2 separate regions of the Homo sapiens genome follow, and region 2 is linked to region 1. The links are contacts of gene promoters, found by promoter capture Hi-C in blood cells and fetal thymus (Javierre and others, 2016). All regions are on one chromosome and are shown on one strand. Each heading gives the region's core, a stretch centred on a gene start or on the middle of the fragment in contact. The rest is flanking DNA. Distances are from core to core; before and after follow the strand shown.

The links. Contacts are between HindIII fragments. The CHiCAGO score rates a contact against its expected background, and 5 or more counts as called.
Region 2: a fragment that was not itself captured here is called in contact with the fragment with the promoter of ENO1 in region 1 in 1 of 17 cell types (total B cells); the score reaches 5.2 in total B cells.

What each region holds. Positions count from the first base shown.
Region 1 is chr1:8,876,956-8,880,264 of GRCh38, forward strand. ENO1 (enolase 1) reads right to left here and starts at 1,731. Exons shown (of 12, transcript NM_001428.5): 1 at 1,625-1,731. ENO1-AS1 (ENO1 antisense RNA 1) reads left to right here and starts at 1,880. Exons shown (of 2, transcript NR_038351.1): 1 at 1,880-2,005; 2 at 2,610-2,930. RefSeq lists enhancers at 568-1,160, 1,161-1,754, 1,755-2,346 and silencers at 1,105-1,224, 1,435-1,484, 2,205-2,454. The HindIII fragment of the contact is 3,104 bases long and covers 594-3,309 here.
Region 2 is chr1:8,007,504-8,010,812 of GRCh38, forward strand. No RefSeq gene overlaps it. Among named protein-coding and RNA genes, the nearest start is that of ERRFI1, 17 kb to the right of the region's middle. RefSeq lists a silencer at 2,126-2,420. The HindIII fragment of the contact is 5,423 bases long and covers 1-3,309 here.

The sequences.
Region 1 (3,309 bases), core at 481-2,980:
GGTGGGATTACAGGCGCCTGCCATTACGCCCAGGTGATTTTTTTTTTTTTTTGAGACGGAGTCGCGCTCTTTCGCCCAGGCTAGAGTGCAGTGACACGATCTCGACTCACTGCAGGCTCCGCCTCCAGAGTAGCTGGGACTACAGGCGCCCACCACCACACCCGGCTAATTTTTTGTATTTTTAGTAGAGATGGGGTTTAGTAGAGTAGGATGGTCTCGATCTCCTGACCTCGTGAGCCACCCACCTCGGCCTCCCAAAGTGCTAGGATTACAGGCGTGAGCCACCGCGCCTGGTCGATTTTTGTATTTTCAGTAGAGACGGGGTTTCACCACGTTGGTCAGGCTGGTCTCTAACTCCCGACCTCAGGTGATCCTGAGGAGGCCCACCTCGGCATCCCAAAGTGCTCGGATTACAGGCGTGAGCCACCGCGCCCGGACCATTCACAGCTTTTTTAGCTGCCTGGATGGAACCCCGAATTAGGGACACGGTAAATGAATGGAGCAGTCAGGGCCCGGGTGGGCCTGAAAGGCAAGTGAAGCAATGGACCCTACCGCCCAGAGAAGCGCACAGAGCAGGGGAACATTGAACAGGAAGCTTTCTTAAAATACATCCTTCTTGGCCTAGCGCGGTGGCTCACGCCTGTAATCCCAGCACTTTGGGAGGCCGAGGCGGGCGGATCACCTGAGGTCGGGAGCTCAAGACCAGCCTGGCCAACATGGTGAAACACCGCCTCTACTAAAACAACAACAACAACAAAAAAAAAACAAAATTAGCCGGGCGTGGTGGCGCATGCCTGTAATCCCAGCTACTCGGGAGGCTGAGGTAGGAGAATCGCTTGAACCCAGGAGGCCGAGGTTGCGGTGAACCGAGATCCGAGATCGCGCAATTGCACTCCAGCCTGGGCAACAATAGCAAAACTCAAAAAAAAAAAAAAACCAAATCAGATCAGGCCCGATTTTTGGTGGCCAGCCGGGGAGCCGCTCTTGCCCAACTTGGGCGAGGTCGCCTGGAGGACTTGCCAATGATCTAACGGCTCTGCTGTAGGTTCCTCAAGAGGTGCCTTCTCGGAGTTAAATGAGTCACCGCTTACTAGGCAGAAGCGCGGGCCGCGAGCGCGGGCGAGAGGCGGGGGCTACCGGTGGGGGAGGGGGCCGCAGCCTCGTGGCCATCTCCACTATCGCCGCCCTCCTCCATTTTAGGAAGGGCCTGGCCTGAGTGGCCACCGCCGCTAAGTCTGCGTCTATCCCAAAAACCTTACACTTGGCTACGATGGAAAAGCAACTTCCACTCCCAACTCCCGCTGTGCTAAGCAGCTCGCGTGTGCAGCTCCCGACCTTCCCTGACAGTGACTCGGCCCCGCAGTCGGTAATCACGTGTTGATCTGCACTTTCCCCTCCAAAGAAATCGGGGGCCCAGCACGTGCGCCTGGCATTGCGCCCCCGCCCCGGGCCTCGGGGTGAGCGGGGGCGCCAGTTCCCACCCAGGGAGGCGGCTTGCACGTGCCCCCGACCCCGCCACGCTGGGCCTGCGGGCGCGCCGCCTCCCTCGGAGGGAAAAGAGCCCCACAAGCCCAGAAAAGCCCTGCGCCGCCTGCCCGTTGCTCAGCCCTTCCCCAATCATTACCTAGCCACTGGGTCTCGTCGCCTAGGAGAGGAAGCGGAGGGTGCTGCAGACACCGAGGTGAACGTAAAGCCGGCGAGATCTCCGTGCTCCGGGTACCCACAGATACTGTCCGCGCCGCCCGCGCCGACTTCCTGCCTAGCTAAGGCGAGCCCCACCCACTTCCCGCCTCCGGGGCACGCCCCCTCAGCTCCGCCTCGCCATTCGTCGGGAGAGCCGTCACTCATTCCCTCACCTCCCGGAAAGGGGTGGGACTGCGACGGCTGCAGTAGCGTGGAAAGGGGGGTGACGTCCCGCGGACTTGAGGCGGGCAGATCTGGGGGGCCCCGACTCCCCAGCGGCCCTGTAGTGGTGCGGGCGAAACTCTGGCCCCAGATAGGACCGGTGAGCCGAACTGGGGTGTGCGGAGCCGGGGCTCCGGGGGATGGCCCGGGGCGGCGTGGCGGGCATGAGAGCTCGGGGCTCCGTCACGTACTCCGAGTCCCGCACGCACTCAGCGTCGCTCTGGGGCCCCACGTCCGGCCCTCGACCTTGCTGACAACTTTGGCGGCCCGGGCCTGCCGCGGCCCTCCTGCCCCGCCCCTCCTGCCTCGCGCCGCGATCCGAGAGACCCCGTTGGCGTCGAGTCGTTGAGAGGCTGCGCGCCTCGGCCCCACTCCGGGGTTGGGGCGCTGGCCCCGCCGCAGCGCTGCGTGTCCGGGGCCACGTGCGCCGCCTGCGCCTGCGCGCTGCCCTCCAGCCGCGCCCGTCTGGCCGGGCTCCGCCTGGCACCCGCCAAGGTGACCCTGTCCCTTTCTCCTTGCTGCGGTGAGAATCAGGCCGAGACAGCCAAAGGAAGGTTCACTTTCCTTTAATTCTACCTCATACTTTTTGAGTGCCTTCTAGGTGTCCGGCGCGCCCCCACGTGCTTCCCCAGTGTTAATTCATTCTCTCTCTAGTCCATGTCATGTTGCCTCTCAAATTTTACATCCCTCTCATTCCCATCTAGGGAACTAGATCAAACCTACCTGGATTCTTGTGAACCATTCATGTGAATTATTTGGAACTGGAATTTCACACAGACCCGGGGAATTTCTCAAAGTTCAAGACGGGTCATATTCCGTGGAATACGGAAGGAGTTGGAGTGATTTCACTTTTCTGATCAAGAACTGATAGCCATTAAAACTCAGCTCCGCAATATATCCCCCCACTCCAAGGGAGGGCTGAGATGATCACTTCGTTTTCTGTTACGGCTACTTTTATATTTTTCAACATTACTGCTGGTCTGTAAGAGAACTAAAACATCTGATTTTCCTCATTTCCTTGTAAAGAGGTGTTCAAATATGTACTTGAATTTAATTATTTCTTCTGGTCAGCTGCAAAACCTGCTTTTCTTCCTTAACCCCTAGCATTTTTATCCTCTTAGCTACAGACAGGTTTCCATGGCGTTGGTTAAAAATTAAGGCCTATTGAGACCATAGTATTTGCTTTCCAGTGAGTAAGAAGCAAGAACTTTAGGATTAAATTCAGCAAAAAGAAAAAAAAAAAGAGTAAAATTTTGCAAGCAGAGTTTGTGATTTCACCAGCAACACACTAACGTTTTTGGCTACTGAAAACCACTATCCCCAGCCCCATGACTCAGCAGCTAAATCAACAGCCAACATCTCCTACTGGTAAGGACTCTAAGAAATCAGGCACTTGGTACTCTC
Region 2 (3,309 bases), core at 427-2,926, 870 kb before region 1:
TTTATTTTTTTATTTTTTGAGACAGAGTTTTGCTCTTGTTGCCCAGGCTGGAGTGCAATGGTGCGATCTCAGCTCACCGCAACCTCCGCCTCCCAGGCTAAGTGATTCTCCTGCCTCAGCCTCCCAAGTAGCTGGGATTAATAGGCTCGTGCCACCACACCCAGCTAATTTTGTATTTTTAGTAGAGATGGGGTTTCTCCACATTGGCCAGGCTGGTCTCAAGCTCCCAACCTCAGGTGATCCGCCCGCCTCGGCCTCCCAAAGTGCTGGGATTACAGGCGTGAGCCACCATGCCCAGCCTGACAACATATTTTTAGAGTTTTATTAGCTTTTTACAAAATGCCAGAAGGCCAAAATTAATTTCTAAATTAATTTGAAAAAGTAGCACCTAAGTTCATTTTGATAGTAACTACTTCCAGATAAAATCCTACATGAGTATTGTGCCAATGTCAGTTTCCTGATTTTGATAAATTCTATGTCATCACTGGGGGAATCTGGGTAATGGGCATAGGGGATCTATTTTGCAACTTCTTTTGAGTGTATAATTACATCAAGATGAAAAGTTAAAAAAAAACTATATAAGAAATACAAAACTGTGCTAGGAGCTTTACTTATTTTTAAGAGAAAAGCTCCAGTATATCCTAAAACTATTAATTATGTGATGAAATTAAGAACCAAAATAGAGACTAGCTTAAAATACATGTTGATTCTTGAACCAGTAGATATATGAATATGGCTTTTCTCTAGTCAACTGTGAATTGCTCTGGAAGATGAAACTCTATGGCCTTTTATTTTATTTTTTAGGGTCCCTAATAGTGAAGAAGCATCCTCTTTTTTTTTGAGACGGAGTTTCACTGTTGTTGTCCAGGCTGGAGTGCAGTGGCTTAATCTCAGCTCACTGCAAATCTCCGCCTCCCGGGTTTTAGTGATTCTCCTGCCTCAGCCTCCCAAGTGGCTGGGATTACAGGCATGAGCCACCACGCCCAGCTAATTTTTTTGTATTTAGTAGAGATGGGGTTTCACCATGTTGGTCAGGCTGGTCTTGAACTCCTGACCTTAGGTGATCCACCCGCCCTGGCCTACCAAAGTGCTGGGATTACAGGCGTGAGCCACCGCACCCAGCCAAGAAACATCCTCTTAAAGAGAGTTCTTACTTTTCACAGCATAGTTAAGACATCTCTTGAGACCTAGAGATGGATAAGCAACAAACAGTATTAAACTTCCATTAGTGTGTTTTTGGAATTTATTAAAAACAAGAGGATACACATCACATACTTGACTGTTGCAGCATAAGAACTGACAAAATTGGCTGGGCGCAGTGGCCCACGCCTATAATCCCAGCACTCTGGGAGGCTGAGGTGGGTGGATCACCTAAGGTTAGGAGTTCGAGACCAGCCTGGCCAACATGGTGAAACCCCGTCTGTACTAAAAATACAAAAATTAGCCGGGCGTGGTGGCAGGTGCCTGTAATCCCAGTTGATCGGAAGGCTGAGGCAGGAGAATCGCTAGAACCCTGGAGGCAGAGGTTGCAGTGAGCCCAGATGGTGCCACTGCACTCCAGCCTGGGTGACGAAGACTTTGCCTCAAAACAAAAAAACAAAAAACTGACATTTACTATTAACCCAAATTTTGAATTCACTTGTAAGAGAGCCCCCTTATCCTCGGCTTCTGTTTGCTGCCACGAAATGGTATCTACTAACCAGTCCCTTAGGTGTGCATAGCACTACAGTGCGCTCTGGCATGGCCTCACATATACTGACAAGGAACTTAAAGCTCAGGGAAGTGAAGTGAATCCTTCCTATAGAAAGTGGGAGGTCAGCCAGGCGTGGTGGCTCACACCTGTAATCCCAGCACCTTGGGAGGCCGAGGCAGGCGGATCACCTGAGATTGGGAGTTCAAGACCAGCCTGACCAACATGGAGAAACCCTATCTCTACTAAAAAAATGCAAAATTAGCCAGGCGTGGTGGCGCCTGCCTATAATCCCAGCTACTTGAGAGGCTGAGGCAGGGAGAATCGCTTGAACCCGGGAGACGGAGGTTGCGGTGAGCCAAGATTGGTGCTACTGCACTCTAGCCTGGAGCCTGGGGTGACAAGAGCAAGAAGACTCTGTGTCTAAAAAAAAAAAGGGAGAAGTCAAGACAGGAACCTGGGTTTTAGGCCAGTACTTTGTTGTGTGACATAACCATCTTTGAGAACTCAACAGTGCATAAAGTGGCAGCTAACACGCAGCTGATTTCCTATTGGCATCTTACTTAGCAACAGAGAAGAGTGTCAGAAGTCCCGGGCTTGACCTATGCCACGAGAACTCTTTAGAATTAACTTGCTTTGTGTGCTGGTTGAGGAATAAGTTGACAGGCAGAAGGTGCTAGGGGATGTGTTCCGGTGGTAGTGTGGCATTGGCATGGCGGCTAGGCACATTTGCTTAGCCAGGAAAAATCAGGGAAAAGGTATATGCTTGCAAACACAAGTAAAAATACAAAGGTAAGATGGAAAGCAAACAGAACTAATGAAACATATTCTTGACCATATGACCAAGAAAAGGTAGTGGAGGGGAGGGGAGAGGCAAAAAGTCTCAGAAGCAGACAAAGTTCTGCAAGTGCTGCATTCAGACATCCAGTCAGCAGGGACTTACTGCACCCCTGGGTCAGGCAGTGCGTCATGACAGTGCACAGGAAGCTGAGTCCCTGCGCTTGGGGAGCTGTCCCTCTTTGGCCAGGGTGCCGCGCACACGGGCCTGCGTGATCTGGAACTTAACTGTTTCTACTACTCCCAGGTATCTTTTACTGTTTTTCTCCATCTCCACTGGCCAAGGCAGTCTTGTCTCAGTTCAGGACTACAGTAGCCTCTGTCCATTAAGTCTTCCCGTTTCCTTTTGCTTCTCTCCGATCTGTCCTCCACACAACAGCCACTGTCCTCTTAAATCACATCACCTTCCTCTCCTGCTTAGGATCTTTCAGTGGCACCCACTACACTTTTCCAGGCCCCTCCTCCTCCTGACAGCCACTTTCTGGAAGCTGCTCAGCTGTTTCCTACTTCAGGGTCTCACACATTGTCTGCTTCCTCCACTGGTAACATGCCTACCTGTTCACTCCCCTCCCTCAGCTTCCATTCTAACCCTTCAGAGCTTAACACCTCACAGGTCCCATTATCAGTCCTCATTGCTCCCATTGTTCATTACCTTTTTATTTAGCACTTAATATAAGATGTAATCATAATTAACATTATCTGCTTTAAATTCCATAAGGGAAGGGGATGTGTTTTCGCAGGATCCAGCATGGGGCTGGGATTTAACAAATGTCTGTTGACTG